Linked DNA regions of Homo sapiens: region 1 is linked to region 2. Evidence: promoter capture Hi-C in human tissues and cell types (Jung and others, 2019). All regions are on one chromosome and are shown on one strand. The core of a region is centred on a gene start or on the middle of the fragment in contact, and the rest is flanking DNA. Distances in the headings are between cores, read along the strand shown.

Region 1 (7,091 bases), core at 3,427-5,926, 1.1 Mb before region 2:
GACTCTGAATGTTTGATTGGTATAATGTCATAAAATATAGCTATAGTGAATCAGTCTAGTCTACTCTCTTAATATAAGAAATGCTGTATTTTTGGCAGGGCGTGGTGGCTCACACCTGTAATCCCAGCACTTTGGGAAGCCAAGGCAGGCAGATCACGAGATCAGGGGTTCGAGACCAGCCTGACCAACATAATGAAACCCCATCTCTACTAAAAGTACAAAAATTAGCCGGGCGTGGTGGTGGGTGCCTGTAATCGCAGCTACTCAGGAGGCTGAGGCAGGACAATCGCTTGAACCTGGGAGTGGAGGTTGCAGTGAGCAGAGATCACCCACTGCACTCCAGCTTGGGTGACAGAGCGAGACTCCGTCTCAAAAAAAAAAAAAAAAAAAGCTATATTTTTGTCTATGGGTCTTTTGGGAGGTACTTACCTCCTATAACAACATATGACTAAGTTTTGGGTGTGGAATCTCTTTTTTGTCATTATCATGATAGTCCAAGTATTTTCTTGAAAAATAAAAGACTAACAATGTTGCATTTATTGAGCCTTACATTTGGTTGAGCCTTGAAATGGTTATTTACATTGTTTCTTTTGTGTATTGTTTGTTATCTGTCACAACTACTCAACTCTGCCCTTGTGCAAAAGCAGGTATTGACAATATATAAAAAATGAGAGTAGCTGTGTTCTAAAAAACTTTATTTATGAACACCGAAATTTGAATTTTATATAATTTCAATATGTTGCAAAATTTATTCCTCTTTTGAATTCTTTAACTGTATAGAAAAAGAATTCATAATTCATAGGCTTGCAGGTTGTACACAAGTAGGCAGTAACCAGGTGGATATTGAGTCAGTGGCCTGGAATCAAATCTGGACTCTAACATATGCTAGGACTTTGATAAAACAATTCACCTTTCTGAGTTTTTCCTGGACTTTAAAATGGAACTGATAATATCCACTACACAGTGTTTGGTGAGGATTTAAAGATAATACGTGAGGATATGCCAACACAATATATTTCCAATAATAGAAAAATCCATATCTGAGTTATTTTTGTCTTACCTAAAATTATGGTAATATCTAGTGGAGAGAATAAATATTCACGCTCCTCTAGTGTATATAGCAATAGAATAGGCCTTTTAAATATAATTAAACCCATTATGTTTTCTTTAACATCCACTGGGTTTTGCTCTTCTGAGTGTCCCTCAACATTCACACATAGTTATTTCACATTTCTAAGGTTTTTTATTCTGTAATATTCTCCTGTTTCTTCAGAAAATAGTTTACTGGGTGATGTGTGGGATGTGAAACACAGGTTACTGAGAAGCTTTATAACTTCATTTTTGGTTTAGAGCAGTGGAATGGTCAACCGTAATATTTTCTCTACTTTGAAAGGTTTTTTCTTATATTTAAAAAAGTAATTGTAATTTTTACCACTTTTTGAAATGTTTTCTGATAGTGTTAAGCCTTAAAAATAAATTTCTAGAAGTACCTTGAGCAAACACTTCATTTAAAAACAATGGAACAGCAACACCTGACCCCTGAGTCTCTTCTGAGCTTCTGTGAAACTTGTTGGGCACTACTTATTAGGAACAAACGATTACATTCACTTCTGCATTTCTGTAAAACTTATTGAGCACTCACTAGGTGGGCTTTGCTCCACCTTAACTTTGTTTCCCTTGTTTCTTACTCTCTTCCCTATCCTCCTTCCTCTAGATCATAATTGTCTAACTTATACTTATGTCCTTAAAGCAATAATTGCAGATAGACAAACTCCTAGCTCAAAGATACAACATTTCACAAAGCTTTCTTTCTTCAAACTGCAGACACCCTAGTGACTCTGTCTAGAAATGGTTGTCATTTGCACTGCTGTGTTTTCAGTCACTTCAGAGAAACTAAAATATTCGAAATGGAGAGAGAAAAATGCAATAAAAAATTGAGGCTCAATGGCTTTTGTATTTACACCTCATCCTCAACCCTGAGCGTCAGACTCTCATATCCAGCTGCCAATAAACTTTTCCACCTGGATGTTCAAATATTCGATTGTTGTGTATCTTGCTATGTGAAAGGCCCAGTATTTATGACAAGCATTCTAAACTCCAGTCACTCACACACTATTTGTTTGTAGAACCTCCCTAGCACTTTCTTCACTGTCTGCCCCCTGCTCCACTATCCTTTTCTGCCTGGGTAGCACATACACATTTCTGCAAAGCCTCCCCTGACTTCAGCCCTCTAAAGCTCCAAGTATAAATTTGATGTCCTATTCAGTGTTTTACCACATTGTATGGCAGGCAAGCATTGGTTAACTAGGCCAGTGCCCCTACTGCACTGTGAACCTGGAGGGCCAGACTGTGTGTTTTATTTCCAAACCCCTAAATCCAAGCATAGATAAGACCCAAAGCTAGATACTTATTATTCCTAACCTCGATATTTTTTCTGAGTCCATATAAATGACACATCCAGATAGGCAATTGCATTACTGTGTAAATGATCCCTTCATCATTGATAAGACAGAGACCCAGTTCAAATGTACTTTCTAATTGCTTGATTTGGGCAAACCACTCATTTTCTCTGTGTTTCTGTTGATTCTTCTAAATGAAAATAATAGCACTTACTTTGGCTTAAAGGTGGATATATTTATCTAAACAATAGATTACATGCAAATGCAAGATGTTTTCATTATCATCTGCTAATGTTTTTTCTTTTTTTTTCTTTTTCTTCTAAGAAAAAAGAATGGGAGAGGGAGTTGTGTCGTGAAAGACACACACAGGTTCTTTTAGAGCTGGAAGAGAAATTGAAGTTAAATCTGCCAATCTCTAAAGTTTACAGATGGGAAAAGTGAGATCCAGCACAACACAGGCTTGCTGGAGTCATGTGGACCATGGGTAGCAAAGCCAGAAGTGCTTTCTGGCCAGTTCCCAGCCAACTGTGATAGCTGGTTGCTTCTCCTAGCAAGATTAGCAATGAATCCTAGGCAAATAAATGTTTAAAAAGTACCATTGATTCTATACCTGCCAACCAATTTCCAGGGCTGGCAATCTGGCCTCTAGGGGAAGGGACAGTCCTGTGGGGGAATATTACAACTGGGAAGCTTCCTGACATGGAGGCACCATTAACATTCAGATTGTTTTCACAGAGGGTAGGCTGTGTTTGGTCTGCCAAGGGGAGAAGGAGGAAGCAACAAAATTCTGATTTCTCCTATTTCCTACTATTCTTTGTGTCATGTTTACAGTGCAGGGGGTGGATAGGACAGACTGGCATCTCTCCTGATGCCACCTCCCTCCATGGAGCCCCCCGCCAAGGCTCACTAGCAGTCCTGTGAGATGAAGATTTTATGCTGGTATCCTGGCCGGCTTCCATCTGGCCAAAGGTATTTTATCTAAATATTTCCAAGGCGCCTATCTCTGCAGTATTGAAGTGCTCAATTAGATATGGCCTAAGTCTCTGAAGCATATCAGTGTGCACTGCTGAACAGCTGCTGCATTCCAACAGAGGGTGAAGTCATCTCTATATATAGAGCATGGCAAGCTGTTTGGAACTGAGGCAGATTTAAGCAGGCAAATGCACACCTGAGTTATAAGTCAGTCACCTGCCCAGAGTGACAGAAGGGTCTGGAAAAATCTCTACTTCCTTAAGTGGTGACTAGCAAGAAGACCACAGGGTTACTTTTTCAGCTATATTTTTTTTTCTGTAGTTTACAGACTCTCTTTTTTTTTTCTATCAACTCCACAATAGAGAAAATCATGATCTACAAAACTGGCTTTATTTTCTGCCATGATTTTCTCTTAACAATCTGTGATTTGTTTATTGATAAGAAGTTTGACATATATTAGCTGGTATCCAGGGGAGTATTGTCATCCTTTAAATAGCACTGTAGGAATTAAGGCATTGTGTACTTCTTCATTTAATATCTATCTTCCCTATTGGATTGTAAGCTGCTAGCTCTTGGCACAACAGAGTGAAATAAATATATAAGTTATGACCATTTATAATCTTCTTGGAGTGTGATTCTCTGGTTCCAACTAAAAGACTATAATTATTGCTCCTTCCAAAGTAATCTGGAAATCTACTAAATCCTTGGGCTAGTTCTGAGAGATATATTGCTATTAATATGGTGACTGATACGTGTCATTGGAAGGGTCCTGGAAGGTCATCTAGATCTCTACCTCATTTGAATAAACATAAGTTGCTTTGGTTTGGGGACAGGGAGACAGGGACAGGACAAATAGCTAATTGTGCAAAAATGCTTGGAAATGACTCAACCACTTAATACCTGTGTTAATCTGGGAAAATCGCAGAAGCACAATGGGCTTAAGTTCTGTCATCTAAAAATAAAATAAAATAAATAAATGGAAAAGAAAAACCTCATCCGAATTCCAATTCCCACCCAGGGCTACAGGGAGGATCTCCTTCAGAAATGTGTCTGAAAATGCTATGCAAATTATATCGCACTCAGACATGAGAAGCATATTCTTATTTTTATTACTGTGTCTTATCTGTCAGAAAAGGTCAGATGGTCACATGAGCATTCCAATTCTGGTCAGCTAGAGGCAACAGCTCCATTTCAGCCATTTCTTCTTGAGCAACTGTAATGGAGCAGCTGTAATGGTGTATCAAGCAAACAGGCAGGTGAGAGAGAGATTCCTGGGAAAGTTCAGTTTCTGGCTTCTGGTATTGCAAATCACCTGAGCAGAGAATCACTGAGACTTCCTCTCATCCCTCTTCACTCTGTCCCTTAGCAGGTAGCGACTGTATCTCATTTCATGATGTCAGAAGCCACCAAAGGTCAAAAAGCACCTAAATGAGGAACACCAGACTAGAACATTCCATTTATGACCAATGCCTTGCTTATCCCACAGCTCTGTTATCAGTTATTGAAGCTACAGCATCTCTGTGGGGATGGGGAGATAAATTACTTCCTGGGGTTATACTCTGTCTTGGCTGTCAGGACTCAGATTCCTATATGATGAATTTATAAACTGAACTTTGACTTCTGTGAAGCAGGCAAGATGCAAATCCTTGCTAGTGCTGATCTGTGGGACATGCCTAGTTTTTCATTGATTGGTTATTAAATCGAGCCAGGATGATGTAAGCACATGCTACAAGAAATGTGAATCAAGGAGCCCAAAGCAAAGAAGACCTCTTGGGATGAACAACTTCCTTAAATCGGTTATAAAATTCTGCCATGGGTCATGAAACTCTATTCTGTGTAGAGAATAACCCAAATAGGTGAATGCATTGCTAGGGCTAATACTTCTTTTTTAAGTTCCCTGAAGGCATAGATGACAGCATGTAAGTCTTCGTTGTCCCTTAATTTTTCTCGTTCCCACCTCTGTCAGTATTCAGCTTGTGTAGGTTTTTCCAAGTCACCTAAATTGCCAGTCTGACAGCTAGCTACTCACAGGCAAGAGGGGGAGGAATTGAGCTGATTACCTATTAACTTCAGCCTGAATTAAATATTTCCATATTGCTTTAAAATTCAGAGTTCTTTCTTATGCATCCCCCCTGGGTTTCCGTGCTCTATATATAAAAAGGCAATGTGACAAATTCCTTTGCCAAGGCTTGGATGTTGGGAACTCAGAGTTTTTATTTAATCATGGTGCTGAGTTCCTGTCTGGCCTTGTATATGCTATTTTACATTTCAAATATTCCATCTGTAAAGACTGAATGATAATTCTTACCGATCTCGCAGGGAGTTTGGAGATGATGGATTATTTAGTGTTGTAAAGAGCTTTTGGACACACTGAGTGCTAAATAACTTGTATTATTAGACCCTCTCTACATTGAAGCTGAAACATTGGCCACCTGACCTGTTTTGGCATCAGATCTCCTGAGGTTCTCTTTCCACAGCACTCACAGAGTGATGATTCTCTGTATGTGTAGTAATAAAAGGAGTCTGGGCCATTAACTTGGGTTGTTGAAATACTGCAGTTCTTTATTTCTTGTCCTATTTTATTTTATGAGAACACAATTCTAAACCATCATATTTGTAGAGATTCCATTATATAATAAACATGCCTCAAAAGAACTATTTTATTATGAAATGTGCTAGGTTTTTTCTATGACAACTGGTGGTTGGGGTAGAGGATTGCTGGTCAATGCTAAGTTTTGAAAGCAAACTAATTATCTTTGAGGTTTACTACTTCTGTGATGCCGACTGAATCTCTGACATTTGGGGAATTCTTCCTCTATTTGCATATATTTTGTATAGATTATTTTGTTTGTTGGCCAAACATATGTTGAATTTCTATAATGATTCACGTCCTAGGTTAGGACATAAATATAAAATCTATATCACTCATGTTGTCTCTATCACAAAGGACTTTATAATATTAGGATAAACATTTAGTGATAAGTGAAATACAAGATGAGATATAAGCAGGGTATTGTATGAATGTAAATAAGGTAATTATTGCCTTGAGGAGTCAGAAAAGATTTCTTAGACATTGGAGGCATTTAAATTGAGACTTTAAAGAGGCCATTTGCCAAGTAAAGAAAAAAGGATGAGAAATGGAACATTTTCTTTGCATAGCGTGTAGCACGTGTACTGAACGTTTTGGCTTTACTACACTATTTACTGACAGGAAATGAAAGTGGCGCATAGATTTACCTATTGAGACCCACTTAGACATTCTATAAGAGGCCCTTTTAGCTTTATTGATCACAAATTAATATCTCTTGCAGGAAGGGCTTCTCTTTTGGAAGTACTCTGCAACACAAGTCTACTCGGCTTTTCAAATGAGTGGAGAAAAAAGATAGTGGCTCTTGAGGGCCCATTCCCCTTAATAATCTAGAATTGCTCTGGATCAATCATGCTTGCCCCCTGTACTTCCAAATGCTGGCTGGAATCATGAGAAACCTCTTCATGTTGAATTGCTGCTCCTCAGCAGGGCCACATTTCCTTCAACAGAAAGGAGAAAATGTGAGCTTGCTGAGGAGCTGCCATTCACTATGAGGGTATTCAATTTTGTGTATTACTGCAAGTTGTATGGAGCCATAGAGGGCTTGGAGAGTATCTATGATCAGCTTTTTGGGATGAAAGACATGAGACAGCTATCAAGATACCATTACATTATGTAATTCTCTTTGGGAT
Region 2 (7,179 bases), core at 1,423-3,922:
CTAAAAATACAAAATTAGCCAGGCGTGGTGGTGCATGCCTGTAATCCCAACTACTCGGGAGGCTGAGACAGGAGAATCGCTTGAACCTGGGAGGCAGAGGTTGCAGTGAGCCGACATTCCGCCATTGCACTCTAGCCTGGGCGACAAGAGCGAAACTCCACCTAAAAAAAAAAAATGTACTCCTGCTCTCTCCTCTCTCTTCAATTAGTATGATCCAACAGTGGTGAGTAAAGTACATTTTACTGCAACGGATTTGTAAGTCCCCAGCCTCGATGATCTTCATATTTAAATGCAGTCATTTACGCACAGAAATGTCTTGTAAACTACAGGGATATAAACAAATGCATGGATTATTATCATTGTGAGGAGGCTCAACTAACACTGAACAACTTTAGGAGGCAGCTTGGTGTAGGGTATAAGAACTTCAGGCTGGAAGACCTGATCCTATGAACCTGAAGGAGGGTGTCTCCTCCCTTGTGGAATAAGGGATAGAAGTCATTTAGGGGAAGGAGAAGGGGTGGGGTGGGCAGCTTTGAATATGACGCTTTAAGAATGGTATGGTTGAGAAGTCCTCACTCACTGAAAGTGGGGTTTGATTTTACAGTCACTGCTGTATGGAGAGGACCCGCCCGTGGTGGCACAATATGAAACTTAAAAAATAATCTAAGCCAATAGATATGTTTCATTGAGTGGCTCCACCGAGATAGTTTACTTACTGAAGACAGGGTATGTTTAGTGATATCTACGTCATTTATCAACTCAAAAAAAAAAAAAGGAAGATACTATATACTCTTTTCAATTCTGAAATAAAGTCTTCTGAAAGGTGTTAGTTCTGAGGTAAACAAGCCTCAGCTTTAGAATCCTATTGAAATGCAAAACTTGCTTTGTGCGGTTTCCCTGTACACTCTGCATAGTGTTTTGGAAACCTGCAGTTATCTAAATTCCCATCGGGTGACATTGTTTAATCCAACATTCCCACTTTCATACATGAAAATAGCTCTAAGGACACACCACTAATATGCTTTGAACTCTCTGGTGGTTGGAAGGGAGTTTCCAATCCCACTCCCTTTCCTCTGATGGTTTTCCTGCTCCCTGCCCCACTAGGTCATTCAGGAAAGGCCTCTGGCAGCTCCCCCAAGCAAGGGCTCAGGGGGGAAAGAGACATTGACCTTGGCCAAGAAAGCACCTGTCTAATTACTGAACTTATTAGGCCACCAGGAGTCCAGACTGGTGCAAGTTACGAGTAGTGTGTGTGTGTGTGTGTGTGTGTGTGTGTGTGTGTGTGTGTCGCAAAACTTCAGGTTTCTGATATTGAGAGGAAATGATGGTTGCTTTAAAGTGATCACTACATCTATTTTCAAATATTCTGATGAAAGTAGGAAAACAGAACCCTTCACCTTTAAGAAAGCTGCAAACATTATTTTGCTTTGAAGGCAGTAATAAGCGAAATAACAAAAAGGTTTCAAGTCGTATCTTAATGTAAAAGGGTGGCTGCTTCTCCAGTCCTGAGCTTATACAAAGCTCTAAAAAGCACCCTACCCCATCTTTCTGAAAGTCTTAGAAAGATTACCACCCCATTTGCTTTAAAACCTGTGAGGTGCCTCCCTTCTTTAAAAACAACCCTCCCTCAACCATACTGCCACATTATCACTCATCTAAGTTATACTTTATAAACCGCCTTGCTGTGCTTCACACATGCAAAAAGTACACAAAGTGGATAAACTTCTACTGTGGATGCCACTGTGCAGGTATATATTTAGTAAACATTTAGTTACATTATTTTATTTTTGTGAAATAAGAACTGATCGAGCAAACCTTTCAAACAGACCCACCAGATGATAAATACCACCATATGCTTGATTCACAGTACATTTGGGCATAAATACTTCAATTACAGCTTTGTGTTTAGTATCAAAAACCTTTTCTTGTGTGCGTGTTTTCTCTCCAGATCCCGTGCTCTGGATCACATTTTGAAAGTCGCTTATTACAGATAAAGCACCTTTCCAGGTACGCTTCGGAGAACCATATGTATTTACGCACACAAAGGTGTTCACAGAGATTTTCACAAACAAATGTCCATATGATGCCGCGCCGCACTCCCCCACATGCCCGCCGCGTGTGCGCCCAGCCCCCAACGCCGCCGGGCCGCCCCCCGGACACGCGGGAGCCCGCGGCGTCCTTGGGGAAACTTCGCCGGCGGCTCCACCCCGGCCACCGCGCGGGCCTCCCCGCCCCCACCCGTCTCGGGCCCAGCGGCCCACACCCGAGCACACCCAGGCCGGCCCGCGGCGGTGGGGGCGGGGCGGGCGGCCCGGGGCCCCGAGGCGCCTTCGAGTGCCCGCGGGGCTCGCCTGATTTTTAAAAGAATGCGCCGCACAGCCCAGCCCCCAGTGCCGCCAGAGCGGGCCGGGAAGGAGAGGAGCGCGGCCGCTGGAGCCCCCCCGCCGCGCCGCCGCCGCCTCCCGGCGTCCGCGGCGCCCCTCCCCCGCCGGCCCCTCCCCCGCGCGCCCGCCCGCCCGCTCGCCCGCCCGCCCGGCGCAGGCCGCTCGGGTTTGTTTTGCTGCGCGGCCGCCGCCGCCGCCGCCGCCGCGGGCCTCGCGAGCTCATTTGTGCCTGGCTGGTCCCCATTCCTCTCTCCCCAGTGTTGAGTGTCTGAGCCGTTGGCTGCTCCGAACCGTTTGGCTCTTTCCCTTAGTAACAGCTTTTACCTTCTGCCTCAATTCCTCTCCCCGCTCGCGCCCTTCCCCCGCGCGCCGCCTCCCCCCGCCGCCGGCCGCGTGCGCCCCCGCCCCTCCCCCCGCGGCGGGAGCACCTCCGCTCGCCACCTGGGGACCCGCGCCGCGCTCCCCGCCCCCGCCCGCCCGGCGCCCATCCCCCGCGCCCTCCGCTCGCTGGGGTTATAATTGCCTCTCACCCCCCGGAGGGGTTATTTTGGGGGTGGTTGGAGGCGGTGGCGGCGGCGGCGAGGAGGGGAATTTCCTTGTGCCTCCATTCCCGGGAGGGGGGAGCGGCGTTGGAGGCCACCGTTTCCAGGTAAGCGCTGGGGGCCGGACCCTGGAGTGGGGGCGGCCGGGGGCCTGGGCGGGGGGCGCGGGCCAGAGGCGGCCGGGGGCGCTGGGCCGCGGGGGGATGGGCGCGAGTGGAACATGCATTTTTCAACTTGGCCCTTGGGGGAACTGGGCTTGCGTGGGGGAAGGGAAGGCAGGGAGGGCACTTGGGGCGCCCCCATCCCCCCGTTTTCCTCTCTCAGGTTTCTTTGAAATGCTCACGTGCCTGCCCACCCCCCTACCCTTTCCCGGTCTCGGGGGATCCTCACCCTAATTATGTTGTCCCCGAAAATGTGCACCTCGGCCTTCTCCCCCTCTTCCTCCCTTCGTGCATTTACACCCCCTTTTTGTGCGTGTGTGTTTGGGGGGGGAGGCTTTCAGGAAAGGATTTGCAGCAAATTGAATCAAGGAGCCATCATGAGGCCGACTCCTTTATAGCCTATTTTTAGCAGAGGAGAAGGAGCTTTTCGGTGCATGCTATTTTGTGAAACCTCGGGCGGCAATGGAAATCTCCCCTCCCCGGGCGCGTCCCCGGCCCGGGCGCGGCGACCCCGGCCGGCGTGCTGGGGGCTGCGGGCGGCTGTTGGGGCCGCGCGTCCGGGGCGGGGGCGCCGGCCGGGGGAGGGGCGCGCGGCAGCCGGGCCTTGCTCCGGGACGTGTTTATTTGTAACTTAGTGCTTTTTATCGTCTTAAGGAGGTATTTGGTGGAGGCTCTTTGAAGTTGGGTTCAGGAGTGTAGAATTGGCAAAGTTATTGCCAGCTTCCTGGTAAGTTTTGGGTGGCACAGAGTCACGTTATTTTCTGACAGTGTAAAGGCCACGTTGTGAGGGTGGTTTCTCGGTAACTTCCTCTTTGCAACCGATTTAATTTTTTGAACAGAAGCAGACTTTTATTTAAGTGGAATATTAATCTTAAATGGCAGCTCGAGGGAAGCCATGCATGTGTTAACGTGTTCAGTATTTTTGGAAGTTCTTAATTTGCTGAAACAGGCATCACTTCGCAGTGGCAACCGGGATTAAATTTAGGTTGTGAAAATGGTGTATTTCATGTAAAATTTGGGTTGTGGCTTTTAAAAAATGCTCTCTTTGTTAGGTTATCTAAGTGTCTCTAAGATAATTTGGTGATTACAAATGAGAAATGTTGGAAACTAGTTAAAAATTAGGTGTTCTCAGTGTCTGGAGTTTACTTGAAATCTTGGACTGTGCAGGCACCAGGGGTGAAGAGTTTTAGTACCTATGTGATTTACAGTTGACTTAGGAAAGTTTACTATTCACTTTCTTGTTTTCCAAACAGGAACCGTATGCTGATCTAAACAAGCTTGTTAATAAAATGTGGGGGGTGAAAATGCCAGGTTATTTTTAGTTTGAATTTTAAGACTGAATGGTTGCTCTACCCCCCACCTCATATAATTAAGTGATCTTCCCCCTCCGTTTTTCCTAAAGGCTTCTTCACCAGTTTGGATAATAAGGCCCTCGTGGTGTGTTCATCTACTTACCTGAAATAACTTGGAATAAATAATTTCGATTACACGTTGAAGATACAATGAGTGACTGTTTGGGTTTTCCAGTGTGATTCATTTTCATTTTTGTTAAAATAAGACCCATGCTACATTGATGTATTTTAGTAATGCCGACTTCCTGGGATTGTATGTTCTCACCATTTTAATAGTTTATAGTCTGGGGAAGTAGGGCACCTTTGTCTCCCCGAAAACATGGTGTGGGTTGGGTGGTATCATGGGAGTTGATGGCAAGCTTCCCAAATAGTTGAGAGTTCTAGAAATAGTTAGCATTTACCTGTGGGGGAGGGGCTGCAGGAAGAAAGTATGCCTGAGAGCAGTTAGGCGTGTGATGTGTGATTAGGCTTCTTGCTCTTAAATCCAGGTTTTCTTGTTTGGAATATGATTTTTTTTTTCAACCCTATCCTGCACTGAGATGTATGTAATCGCAATCATTAAATTCATAAATAACTACTATTTTTTTTGACGTTTGAGTTGTTGGAATCCGACCTACAGGACAAAATACTAAACTGTATGGGGGACGAAAACTACGTGCCTGGGAAAAGTTTTTCTTATTGCTAAGGAACTTAATAAAGTGACATGTTAATGGCATAAAAATTGTTGCAAAGCTCACCGTCAGTTTATGACATTTTTCTTTTAACGTATACCAGCTTTGGGTATTAATGTGGGAGACACTGGTGGTAAATGGAGTGACCCCTTGCAGAGATGATATTTTTGCATTGGTTGCTTCAAAGAAGTGTTAAGCATTTTAATACGTATGTCTAAGAATCTTTTTGATATTTGTATTCTCGACACCTAATTAAAGGTTTTGCATGATTACCATGACACCAGTCTCCCGAAAGAATTAGAGGTAACTGCTTCCTGTGTTCTAGGAGCCTTTCAAGCTAACAGAAGGTAATATAAATATAAGGGGTACTGATAAAAGGAAATGTATTAATAGACCTTTTGAACATCAACTTGTTGATTAAATCTATCAGTGCAGTATATATACAACCTTGTCAGACGAGTAGCTGACAAAGGAATCTCCCTAGTACAACTTGTAGCAGTACTATTATAAAGAATTCCTGACTTGACACATTTTGATGAAGTTGGTTGAAATAATTTGTTGGGTTTGTTCAATTTTTGGTGTCATTTATATAAAAAGAATAAAGAAGAATGTGAATGGTAGGAAGTCAGGGGAGAGGCATGGCAGAAACATTGGTATTCACTAGAACTTGTATTTTTCTAGTGCATGTGAATTGGACTCATTTCACAAATAACATTTACAGTATAAGTCACTGAAATGCAAAAAAGGAAAGCAGCTAACACGAGACATTTATACTTTATGCTCAGACATTCTGGTAGTAGAGGAGGGCTAGGACCCTAGAGCTGTGTAGTAAAGAATTGTTGAGTATCGTTCAGTTTAGGTACCACGAAGGTGGTATCTCCTGCTCTGCCACCAATAGAAACTTGAAGTTAAAAAGAAAAGACTCTGAGAGCGCTGATGCTGGAGAGATTTGGCTGTTTACCCCTCTGGGATTGGATTCGGTAAGAGTGCAATTAATTGCCCTGTAACCATAGAGCCAGAGGAGAGGGACTAGGTGCTCCGGGCTATGCTCTAGGAGGTGTGAGGTGCTTTCTATGCTGTTTATACCCTAGGCTAATCCTATGAGGTAGATAGTGTTGGGCTTTTTTTGTGGATGATGAAACAGAGATGCAAAGAAGTTAATTCCCTTGTTCAAGGCCACAAAATTATTAAATGAACACTAGGATTCAAACCTGGGTCTGTCTTAGATGACTGAATCTGCGGAATTTTCCCAGCTGTTTTGTTAGTCTTGATCCGTGTAGATCATCCTTCCAAAAACTTGTGTTTCTAATCAAGTTTATGATCTATAGTTGAGCGTCTGTACTAAATGGGTCGAGTGATTACATGGGTAAATGAAATTGATAGAACTCATATCATTGTGCTGAATTCCCTAGCACCATTTAATAAGATGCAGTCTTGCTGGGTGCAGTGGCTCACGCCTGTAATCCAAGCACTTTGGAAGGCCAAGGCGGGCGGATCACGAGGTCAAGAGATTGAGACCATCTTGGCCAGCATGGTGAATCCCCGTCTCTACTAAAAATACACAAATTAGCTGGGCGTGGTGGCGGGTACCTGTAGTCCCAGCTACTCGGGAGGCTGAGGTGGGAGAATCGCTTGAACCCAGGAGGTGGAGGTTGCAGTGAGCCAAGATCGCGCCATTGCACTCCAGCCTGGGCGATAGAGGGAGACACCCTCTCAAAAACAAACAAACAAAAAATTTGTGTAAGAAAAATCATTGAAGTCTTTGTGTTGTAGCATAGTGGTTAAAGTGAGTTCAAACTCAGGCTCTATCCTTTACTAGCTGTGATGTTGGGGTAGTAGCTCCTCATACGTTTTATTTATTTTTTAAAATTTTATTTTATTTTATTTTTTTGAGACGGAGTTTCGCTCTGTTGCCCAGGCTGGAGTGCAGTGGCGCGATCTCGGCTCACTGCAACCTCCGCCTCCTGGGTTCAAGTGATTCTCCTGCCTCAGCCTCCCAAGTAGCTGGGATTACAGGTGCTTGCCACCACTCCCGGCTAATTTTTGTGTTTTTAGTAGAGATGGGGTTT

Evidence for each region. The method cuts DNA at HindIII sites, captures the fragments that hold promoters and counts their contacts. A contact is called where the count stands out against the background at its distance.
Region 1: a contact is called between a fragment that was not itself captured here and the fragment with the promoter of TBL1XR1 in region 2, in 1 of the 25 tissues and cell types used here (dorsolateral prefrontal cortex).

Annotation. Positions count from the first base shown.
Region 1 is chr3:178,316,959-178,324,049 of GRCh38, reverse strand. All of the region lies in intron 2 of LOC105374235 (a long non-coding RNA gene), which reads left to right. Among named protein-coding and RNA genes, the nearest start is that of LINC01014, 99 kb to the left of the region's middle. RefSeq lists a silencer at 3,883-4,083. The HindIII fragment of the contact is 4,460 bases long and covers 2,447-6,906 here.
Region 2 is chr3:177,192,975-177,200,153 of GRCh38, reverse strand. TBL1XR1 (TBL1X/Y related 1) reads left to right here and starts at 2,672. Exons shown (of 16, transcript NM_024665.7): 1 at 2,672-3,033. RefSeq lists silencers at 2,081-2,460, 2,701-2,890, 3,001-3,100, 3,581-3,630 and enhancers at 2,078-2,585, 2,586-3,095, 5,864-6,454. The HindIII fragment of the contact is 7,362 bases long and covers 1-4,581 here.